Linked DNA regions of Homo sapiens: regions 1 and 2 are each linked to region 3. Evidence: promoter capture Hi-C in human tissues and cell types (Jung and others, 2019). All regions are on one chromosome and are shown on one strand. Each heading gives the region's core, a stretch centred on a gene start or on the middle of the fragment in contact. The rest is flanking DNA. Distances are from core to core; before and after follow the strand shown. Region 1 has its middle 63 kb from the start of VPS13A. Region 2 has its middle 7.4 kb from the start of PRUNE2. Region 3 holds the start of FOXB2 (forkhead box B2).

Evidence for each region. The method cuts DNA at HindIII sites, captures the fragments that hold promoters and counts their contacts. A contact is called where the count stands out against the background at its distance.
Region 1: a contact is called between a fragment that was not itself captured here and the fragment with the promoter of FOXB2 in region 3, in 3 of the 25 tissues and cell types used here (H1 embryonic stem cells, bladder and lymphoblastoid cells).
Region 2: a fragment that was not itself captured here is called in contact with the fragment with the promoter of FOXB2 in region 3 in 3 of the 25 tissues and cell types used here (IMR-90 fibroblasts, mesenchymal stem cells and spleen).

The regions. Positions count from the first base shown.
Region 1 is chr9:77,113,174-77,116,876 of GRCh38, reverse strand. No RefSeq gene overlaps it. Among named protein-coding and RNA genes, the nearest start is that of VPS13A, 63 kb to the left of the region's middle. The HindIII fragment of the contact is 7,528 bases long and covers 1-3,703 here.
Region 2 is chr9:76,911,673-76,915,379 of GRCh38, reverse strand. No RefSeq gene overlaps it. Among named protein-coding and RNA genes, the nearest start is that of PRUNE2, 7.4 kb to the right of the region's middle. The HindIII fragment of the contact is 3,388 bases long and covers 203-3,590 here.
Region 3 is chr9:77,017,876-77,021,534 of GRCh38, reverse strand. FOXB2 (forkhead box B2) reads right to left here and starts at 1,880. Exons shown (of 1, transcript NM_001013735.1): 1 at 582-1,880. The coding sequence starts at 1,880. The coding sequence ends at 582. The HindIII fragment of the contact is 6,747 bases long and covers 1-3,659 here.

The DNA of each region.
Region 1 (3,703 bases), core at 111-2,610, 96 kb before region 3:
TGACATTTAATGTGAGTGTTTGAAAATCATGGACATTTTAGACATGGATAGCCTATAACGATGAAGTTATAGATGCAAAGCACCTGCTTAATGATGAGCTGGTGTACCAGAACAAGCCTGTGGATACAGAACAGACGGGCATTTTTAGAGCACCACAGGTCCAAATTCTGCTGTTGCCAGTAAGTAATATCCTGAGTATTTCATGTGCAAAGGAACATAGGCATTTTTGTTGAGAGGATAGCTAGCTTAATTGACATCACATTGACCTGACACCAGGAATCAGTGTAATATGGGTTTGATAAAAGCAGAACTGCAAGTCAAACTGAATCTTACTTTTGCCTGTATTCAGTTTTAGTACTACATAAAAGAAAAAAAAAGGACCAGGCGTGGTGGCTCACTCCTGTAATCCCAGCACTTTGGGAGGCTGAGGCAGGCGGATCACCTGAGGTCAGGAATTTGAGACCAACCTGGCCAACATGGGGAAACCCTATTTCTACTAAAAATACAAAAATTAGCTAGGCATGGTGACTCAAGCATGTAATCCCAGCTACGTGGGAGGCTGAGGCAGGAGACTCGCTTGAACCCAGAAGGTGGAGGTTGCAGTGAGCAGAGACCATGCCACTGCACTCCAGCCTGAGAGACAGAGCAAGATTCCATCTCAAAAAAAAAAAAAAAAAAGAATTTATAAAAATATAACCTGAAATATTAAAAAGTCCAATAAAGCATTTAAAAAGAGTTCAAATAAATTGCTGTATCAGAAGACAGAAACATCAAAAAATATTGCTATATTTTCTCACACATATTGCTTATTTAATCCTGCTATTAATCACTTCTAACCGCCACTGCTATCTAGGCTTATTGTTGTTTTGTTTAAATAATAGCATTTATTTAACATAAAAGTAAGTAGTACAGAACATATAATTTCAAATAAATACCATTTTTCATATTTTATGTTAAAGTAATAACACATTTGAGTATACTTATTCATTACATATTAGATTATTACATTTGGGTTTTTTTTTTAAATTCAGTATAGTTGTGTCCACGTTGGCCCTCAAAAAAGTTGGCCACTCTAGTAGCCAGGGTTCTTAGCTGTCAGTTCAGGGCTCCCAAAGTGCATGTCCCAACAGACAAGGATTCAGGGGGAAGCTGGACCTCGTTTTAGGATCTCACCTTGCAAATCACACATCATCACTCCCACCGTATCCTATTCATTAGAAGCTACTAAGTGTGGCCCACAATGAATGGAAGAAGAATTAGACTCCACTTTTTGATGAGGGATATGTCACAGTATAGGTATACTTTAAAACTATTTCGAATAATGAAGAACACAGTGACTCCCATGCACTTTTGCTAGGCAAACTGGTATATACTTTTTGGAGAGGAACTCGGAACTATCAAAATAAAAAACAATTAGGAGTTTAGGGTACGGATATACTTGCAAAACAATGCCAAACACACTAATTAAAACTTCCCCCACCCCTCATTCTGAAAACGTTCAAAACTATAGAAACCTATTGTGGTGGAGTAGAGATGGTCATAAGTTATTTTACACTCTTCTCATTGAGATGTGGGGTCCCTTTTTTTTCTTGGATCTGAACTACTGTGACTTCTTGAGCAATCTAAAATGGCAGAAGATTTTAGATTGCTCTGAAATCTAACTCAGAACTCTGTGACAGTTCTGGACCTAGCTCTCAAGAAGACTGGCTTTTTTAGGGGGTTTCCTGAAGCCCTGAGCCTCCATGTTAAGTTCCACTACCCTGGTGAAGAGGCTGATGAGAGACCCCAAGACTACCCAGAGAGGGAAAGCTCAATCCAGCCATCTCCACCAAAGCACCAGGCATGTTTTGGATTCTCTGAACCAGTTGTCCATCAGCTGTGTGAATAGCCAGTCACCAAGTGACTGTAGGTAATGCCACTTAGAGCAGAACCATCATCCAGTGAAAGTCCTCCCAAATTCCTGATCCATAAAATGGTAAAATATAATGAGTTTTTTTTTAAGCCACTAACCTTTGGGGTAGTTTGGTATGCAGCAACATACAACCACAATGCCTCCATACCCTTATTCATCAGTTGTTAACATTGTGCCACATTTGTGCCTCTGCCCTCTCTGTTGTGCTGAATCATTTGAAAGTAACTTGCTGATATCATGATGCTTCACCTTTAAATTCTTCAGTATGTATTCTTCACAGTCGCAATGCCATTATCACTCCCAAGATACTTAAGATTGACACAATAATATTCTTTTTTTTTCTTTTTTTTTTATGAGACAGGATCTTGCTGTGTCACCCAGGCTGGAATGCAATGCTGCAATTATGGCTCACTACAGCCTCAACTGCCCAGGTTCAAGCGATCCTCCCATCTCCCATCCCAGCCTCTGGAGTAGCTAGGACCACAGGTGCATGCCATCGTTCCCAGATAATTTTTTTTTATAGAGGTGAGGTCTCACTATGTTGCCCAGGCTGGTCTCAAACTCCTGGGTTCAAGTAATCCTCCTCAGCTTCTCAAAGTGTTGAGATTACAGGTGTGAGCCACTGTGCCCAGCAGACACAATAATATTATCCAAAATGTAATTAATATTCAAATTCCACCAATTACTCAAATCATGTATTTGTATAGATTTGTTTTAAAATCCAGAGTACAATCAAGGATTATGCAGAGGATTATTTAGTTGCCATGTTTCTTCAAGCTTGTTGAAATCCAGTACAATAAGCCTCTGGTTTTTTTTTACTTTCATGTTACTGATATTTTTGAGGAGCTCAGAGCAGTTGTCTTGTAGAATGTCACATCATTTAGATTTGTTAAATTATATCCTCACAAAATTATATTAGGGTTAAGTATTTTTAATGTGTTTTTAACTTTTAATTTGTATGGACACATAATAGTTGTATTTAGTTACGGGGTACATATGGTATTTTGATACAATCATACAATGTGTAATGATCAAATACAGGTAATTGAGATATCCATCACCTCAAACATTTATCATTTCTTTGTGTTGGGAACATTCCAAATCTTCTCTTCTAGTTATTTTGAAGTATACAATAAATTATTGTAACTTTAATGACCCTACTGTGCTACTGAACACTAGATCTTATTCCTTCTGCCTAACTAATTTGTATAGGGTTAAGCATTTTTGGTAAGAGAATATTACATGGCTGACAACATAGGTACTTTCCATTGCTTCATAAGAGAGGCACATAGCGTCAGGTTGTCTCATTATTGATAATGTCAAGTTTGATCATTCGATTAAGGTAGTGTGCACAACATTTCTCTGTTGTGAAGACATACATTTTCTCTAAAATTAGTGAGGACCCTGTAGTCTTTCAGACTGTGTGGATATCCCATTTCAAGATGACCTTTCACCACATTGCTTTCAGAATTCGTAGATGATCCTTGCCTGACTCAATCATTATGTAGTGGTGGTATGGTGGTGGTTTGCTAATTCTGTATTTCTTTCTACTTTTGTTAGCTGGCACTTTCTCTAAAGAATTTCTTCACTGTCCATCTCTTCTTTTTGCTTATTATAATAAACTAAAAGATTCATTTTTAAACGACCGGCTTTGATGCTCAAATTGTCCCATATTTGGCCAATTGGTTCCTGTGTTCCCTTGAGTTTTAGTGCACTTCCTTCCTTTCAGGCTTAAGATATTCCAGGTTCCTTCTGTAATTTTCCCACCTCACACCTGGAACTAACCACAAA
Region 2 (3,707 bases), core at 647-3,146, 110 kb after region 3:
CATTTGGTGGATGACACAGCATTCAACACAAAACATTTGCCATCCCCCAAAAAGCTGCCAACTGTTACTGGATGGCTTTGGTGATTTCCATGACATTTTTCCAAAATACAATGACTTTCCTCTTGTGGTTTTTGTACATCAACAAATCTTTTCAACTAACAACTACTGGGAAAAGTGAATCTATAGAAGTTTATTATTAAATAAACTAACATGAAAATGAGGCTGTTATAGCAGTATTGGAGTGGTAATAGTCCAGCCCTTCCCCAACTGCTGACTCCATATTTTAAAACCGTTTTTAGGATTTTTTTTCCCCTTCATTCACAGAAAGGAAGGTGACAGGGTGAAGGAGGTGGGGGTGGGGTGCGGGGGGCACATAGTAGAAGGAATCTGGAATCCAGAAGAGGTAGTATCGGTTTCTAACAACTTTCTGAGCTAAGTCTAGTGGAATATTAATGTGAATGAATCCTTGACAGAAACAGAAGAAATTGGGTGGCAGCATTTCCCAAGAGTGATGAATTGCAGGTGGTGTCTCCAGGGAGTAGGTCAATGAGAGTATGACGGAGATGTTTGCTGGGAAGCAGGTCCTTTGCTTTGCTGCCCAGTTTAAAGAAAATACAGCAAAGAAGCAAATGCTGTAGGTGGACACTGCGGCTCTGCGTTAATGGATTTGGATTTCCTTCTTCCTTTTCCTCTGGAACTTCAGTGGTTTTATAATGCAGAGATTTAGAGAAGGAAAATGCAGAGCAAATAATTTTTGCCCTCATTGAAATCGACAGTTTGTTGGACATTTTTAAATATCCAGTTTTTTATTTTACTGCTTTCTACACAATATTATTGAAAATACATTACATACTGAATTCAGTTTTTTCTAAGTGAAATATTGCCACTATATAAGAAGAGAGATCAATGGCCTTTGTTAGACAACAATTGAACAGCATCCTTTAGCCTGAAATTTGAGTCTTTCTTTCTTTCTTTTTTTTTTTTTTTTTGGTTCCAGGCTTCCTGTCATGAATAGAAAATTTCTCTGAGGACATTAGGATTTGATACCTAAGAAAACACATACCTCTAACAAATCTTGCTAATTTTTCTCTTTCCAGGCTTGTTATTTACATGTCTACATGTCTTAATTACTGACCTTTGAGTTGAAGTTCCTTAAAATACTTGATTACTTTTTTTTACAGGTGGATATTTTTATGCCATCTTAACATAATCCCTCTGTTCTACACAAACATCTAATGCTACAAAGATATTCAAAGACTTTTTAACAAAAATAAGACAATTTCTCTTGTACACTTTCATGTTTCTTGTGGATCTAAGAATTGTATGATTCCATTTTGTAATCATAGAATGTTAAGGTTGGAAACATCCACTCAAGCCTTCTGTTTCTCCTAGGACCCTAAGACCTGGAGATGCTAAAATCACTATCCAAAGGACTAACATCACTATCCAAAGGACTAAAACTCAAGCATTTAACCATCAGAACATAATAGTGTTCCACTTTTTGGGAAGGGGTGAGGTTCAAGAATGATGAGGGGAGAGATGAGGACGGGGGCTGGGTAAAGGAGAACCTGATGGGAAAGAAGCAATGATTTAGCTGAGCCATCATTGATGACAGGAGCTTTTAATGATGTGTGCTGATCAAGCTTCTGGGACATTTACCTCTTTCTTGCTGGTGATTTCTCTGACTCATCTGCAAACATCAGGTATGAGGTCTATGTGGCCAAGTAGGTGAAGGGGTGAAGAGGTAGGTGAAGGGGTGACCAGCTCATTCTTAACTGTGGCAGAGCAATTGAAAGTGCCATGTGGTGAGTACTCATTTCTTCTCCAGTCTCCACATTTGCTTTTTTGGGTGAGCAGCTGGGTAGCCCATGCCAGTGGACAGGCAGTGATGTGCAGTCGCTTAGTACCTGGGCTCTGGACCTGGTCACCTGCTTTGGCTACTTACTACCTGAGTAATTTTGTGAAAATTGCATCTTTGTACCTCAGTTTGCACATCTTTAAAATGAGGATAATAGTACCTGATTTATACATTTGTTATGAGGACTAAATGCTATTAATACACATAAAAAATTAAAGTGATATTTCATGCAAAGAAACTCTTCATAAACATTAGCCTTTTTGATGAAAAAGGCCTGAACTTTGGAATACAGAGTCTAGATTTCAATCTTCAGGCATGTCAGTAAACAATTTTGGGCCTGTTTCTTCAGCTCTAGAATAGGTTGGTTGCAGTTCCCATTGTTCTGGCCTTACAGCATTATTGCAAGGATGAGAGATCATGTTGGTCGACTCTCAGGGTGTGGAAATTATTAACATTCTACTTTCCTTGCCAAATACTTCCTCAGTGGAAATGCAGGATGGGATCATGAGTTAAAGTTTATACTGTAACTGAGAGAGCCAGCGTTGTTTTGAAGGTACTTGAGATACCTTTCTGCAGGAAGAGCGTGTATAAAACTGAAGCCACCTGAATGTATAGTGTGAGAGGAAGCTGGGACTTTAAGGCCCTATCTACATCTTTCCACAGGCAACAGACCTGAAAGTGGCAGCCACTGCCTTATTATTCTGATGACTCACAGAGCCGGAGTACTTCCTCTCTCCTCCACTGTCCTTTCAAATTAAATTCATTGCTCTTCAAGATGTCTGTGGTTCCCAGAAATGACGCAAGTTGTATGTACCCCGTTCAAAGCCTGAGCATTTGACTCTCAGGACATTCTCCCAAGTGGTCTGGGCCCTGCCACTTGCTAATACAGCTCTGACAATCTCAATCACTCCTCTTTTTCCTTTCTTTACAGAAACTCAGAGAAGACAATGGCTATATGGACTCCTTTTAAAAAAAGTCTTGCAAAGCTTACCTTAAAAAATTTGGATATTCTTGCTAAACCACAAAATAAAAAAAATAGTTAATTCCTCTTAATATTATTTGCTAACATGGATAGTATCTGACCACCCACAGGACAAAAAAACAGACATTTAACAGTTGCTTACAGGCTAAATGAGAGGCCCTAGTTAATGCACATTAGTCCTGTTTCTATCTCTTGTCCTTGAAATAAGCTTAAAATGCTTTTAAATTTAGTTCAAGTGTGAGATGCAGTTTCTTGAACCTCTTGTGTCACATGAAACAATTTAAAAGCAGCGAACATAACCCATCTGCACCAAGGAGAATCTACCTGTGAGAGGTGTTGTTGGTCAGTGAGGAAGCTAGCTTGGAAATGTGCCCAAATAGTGAATCAGCAGCTGCCATCCCAGCTACATTTCATTTTTAAAAGGATAGCATATGTCAGGTATTTTTTTTTTTTTTTTTTTGCCAACCAAGCTGATTTCTTCAGTATTCTGTTTTCCCTTGTTAACATTTCCCAGTATTTGTAGGGATGTTAGCATTTGATTCTTTAATGACAATCATGTAAAGTAACTAGGGCAGGTATTTATCTTCTATTTCATAGATAAGGAGATTAATAATAAATAACTTGCCCAAAAGTACACAGCAAGGTCTCATATCCAGATTTTCTGATACCATGCTGTGAGCACCAGGGAAGCTGGTTAAGATAAGGAAATCTTCAGATACCCCTGTGGTGGCACTGACAGTAATAGGTGTGCCATGAGATGGATGAAGAGCTACAGTGCTCCTGTGAGAGTCTACAGAGGAAAGATCTAGTGCCCCATGGGGGTAAGGAATGGTAATTTGGGGATACAACCCCTAAGCAAGTTATATT
Region 3 (3,659 bases), core at 631-3,130:
GAAAATAACGGTATCAAACGCTTCCTCTTTTCCTTCTTAAATAAAACGAAATTTCCTTAGTGGACGGCAGTTTTGTCTTGAATGTTCACGAGAGGCGACCGCCGAGGATGCGACCAGCAGAGAGAAACGTGGTGGCTGAGATCCGTTTCAGCGTCACTCTCTGTTGGATTCTTCGCGGGAGGTTTAGCTCTGCCAGCTTCTGCTCCCAGGAATAAGGGTCAGAATCGACTTCCAATTTACCAGCGAATGAGGCTTTCCTAACCTCCTTCGTTCCCTCCCCCCATAACTTATGGATTTATATTAATTACAATAGAAACTCTTACCTGAAAATTGGCTTTCATTAATCTGATTGTACAACATAGTATAAACACAGACACCAGGAAGGTTATATTTATTCAGACCACTGGAGAATCCACTTTTCGGGGTTGTTCGTCTATTTAAATACCTTCCGTTCCAGCAAAGGCTGAGACTCGCCAGCTCTGCCCGGCCTGACCAGGGCGCCCTCTCCCCGTCGGGTGGTTTGGGCGGTTCCGGGCCCGGCGTCTCTCACCCCGCTGGTCTCCCCACGCCCGCCGGGTCCCCTAGGAGTGCACTAGCACCGAGTGCAAGGAGCCGCCCTTGCTTTCGGCCGAGGTAGGGGCTGTGGGCTCCAGCAGAGAGGCAACGGGCGAGGCCGCGGCCGCGGAGCACACGGTGGATGGCGCCGGAGGCTGCTGCGAAGCCGCGGGGACAGTGAGCCCCGGCTGCAGCGCGGACACGGGCGGCAGCGCAGGCGTGGGCTTGATGGGCACCGGCATGGCAGGCAGGCTCTGGCTTGCCGAGTGGCACAGGGACTTGACCGGGACCCCGAAGGCCCCATACTCCGGGCCTACAGGGACTCCGGCTGCGGCTGCGGCGGCCGCGGCGGCGGCCACCGAATCCATGACGCCAACGTGCGGCCACACGGAGCTGACGACGTTGCCAAGCTGGCCGGGCACGGGGTAGCCCAGGTGGTGCATGACGGACGCCAAGGGCAGCCCTCCAGCCTGCAGCACGCCCTTGTAGTCCCGGCCAATAATGTTCTCAATGGCAAAGGGGTGCTTGAAGCCTGACGTGGACGCCGCGGCCGCGGCGGCAGCGGCGGCGGCCGAGCCCAGCCCGTAGGGTGGGAACTGAGACAGGCGTCCCACGCTGCCCACCGCGGCTGCCGCGGCCGCCGCCGCCGCCGCCGCCACGGCCGCCGCCTCCTGCATCTTGCCGGGGTGAGACGGCTGCTGAGGCTGCGACTGCTGGGGCGGTTGCTGCGGGGGCTGTGACGGGAGGTGCGGAGGCGGCTGCGGAGCAGTAGGCGGTTGCTGATGGAAATAGTGTACCATGTGCGGCGGCGGCGGGGGCGGCGGCGGCGGCGGCTGGGGTGGGTGGTGGTGATGGTGGTGGTGTGCGGCAGCGTGGTGATGATGGTGGTGGTGGGGGTGGTGGTGGTGATGGGGGTGAAGGTGCCCTCCCGGACCGGCGCCCGGCGCGCTCTTGGTGCTTCCCGCGTGCAAGTGAGTATGGTCGGCGCGCAGCACCTTGAAGCGCTTGCGACGCCGCAGGAAGCTGCCGTTCTCGAACATGTCCCCGCAGTCGGGGTGCAGCGCCCAGAAGCTACCCTTGCCAGGCTGGTCGGGCCTCCGCGGAATCTTGATGAAGCAGTCGTTGAAGGAGAGGTTGTGGCGCAGGCTGTTCTGCCAGCGCTGTGTGTGCTCGCGGTAGTAGGGGAAGCGCTCCATGATGAACTTGTAGATGTCGCTCAGCGGCAGCATCTTCTCGGCCGAGTGCTGGATTGCCATGGCGGTCAGCGAGATGTAAGAGTAGGGCGGTTTTTGGTCGCTGTACGAGCTCTTCCCCGGCCGCGGCATCGCCCCCGGCTCCTCCACCGCCCTCCGGCCCGCACTGGACCACAGAATCTCTCCGCACTCCGTTCCTGGGGCCTGGCTGCCCCCACTAATTCCCACTCGGCCCCTCCAGTCCCGCCACTTTGCCCTCTCGCCCTCCAGGCCCTCTCTGCTTCTCTCTCCTGCCTTCTCCGAATTGCCTGGTGTCTCCGACCTTGGCCTTTCGGGCCTACTCAGCTCTCGGAAGCTGGCAACTTCTGGCCCCGACGGTTGCCGACTGGCGCGCACAGTCGCGGGCGGAGTGCACCAGGTTTACCGCCGCCTTCTCTGCGTCTTCCCCCGGGTGGCCAAAGACTGAGTGCTGGAGCTGGCTGCAGAGGAGAGTGGCAAGGGGCCGTGTTTCCTCCCGGCCTCTTTGCTTTTTCTAGGTCCGAGGGAAACCCAGACCAAGATGGCTGGGAGGAAGGTCTGGGCAGTAGAGACTCTGGCCCTTTAAATCTGAGTTTGCGCCTGCTGTCCTGGAGGCCAGTGACAGCAGGACTTCCAGTGCCCTGGACGCAGGCCCCTGGCCAGGCACTTAGCCAGACCGCGCTGGAGTTCTCCTTTTCCTGGAGTGAAAAATCAGGGTAAGGAGAGAGAAGATTGGCTTCTAGGGCGCCTCTCTTTTCTCCGAGGCTCGCAGCGTCGCCGGGGTTAGAAGAGACGCGCAGCCCTAGGCTGTCGCTGAGGAGAAAAAACTTTGGTGGTTTCTGAAGCGGCAGCGCCCGCAGGTTCTGCTGAGGAGTGTGGGGCGCAGGACTCTGGGAGCGAGCGGCGGGCTGGAGAGGGCGTCTGCGAATGCTGGGTGAGTGCTGGCCGGGGAGGCTCAGCCGTCCGCGCCGCAGCTGCCGCCTTTCTCCCGGGCTTGTCTTGAGGAGGAGAGGCGACGGCAGTGGCAGCGACGCGCTCTCCTGGCTGCGTTTTGTAATGGTCCCCGAGACGCCGAGACCCCCGCAGCTAGCGCTTCGAGACTATCACATGACCGAGGCTGAGGGACTCAGCCGCCGCCGCCGCGTCTGTAGCTGAAGAAGGGGCAAGAAGGCGCCGTGCCTCGCCCCCGCCCCCTTTTCCACCTCGTTTCGGGCGCTCTCCACCCATCGCGTTCACCACTCGCTCGGCAGCCCCCAGCCACCTCCCGGTGCGGCGGGTGGCGCAGGCTGTTCGCCGGGAGGGGGCACAGCTCCGGGTGCATTTCCCGCAGCTGCGCCCCACCCGGGCCACCAAGCACGGTGGAGGGGGAACAGGACACTGCCTTCTTGCTTCTCTTCTCTCTGGCATCTCCCTCTTCCGCCCCCTTCCTTTTACCCTTCCCTGTTTTCATCTACTCGCTGTGAGCTTCTCTCTCCTTACAAACCCTTTTTCCTGGGCTAGACACTCTGGGTCAAGTTCAGAGTATCGTGTCCTCAAGGCCTCTTCTCTGCAAGAAACCCCGATGATTAGAGGGCTGGAGGGAAAAACTCATGGGGAAGAAAGCATGGGGTGTTTTCACCAAATGCCAAATTCATCTCAGTTTTATTGCGCGCCAACTGCATGTGAGGCACCAGGTGCAGGGAGACAGGAGACAGTATCCGAGCTCCACCATCGCGGTATAGAGGGTGAGACGAACAGTAACCAAGAAATTAATAGAATAGGCACTAAAGGGCTTGGCGAATGGAGGCTCCACCACACTTTCCTGGAGCGAGTGAGTTGGACAAGATGAGGTTTCTCTGGGATGGCGATGTCTGAGCTGGGGCCAGAAGTAAGAGTTGGGGATTCAGGGGTCCC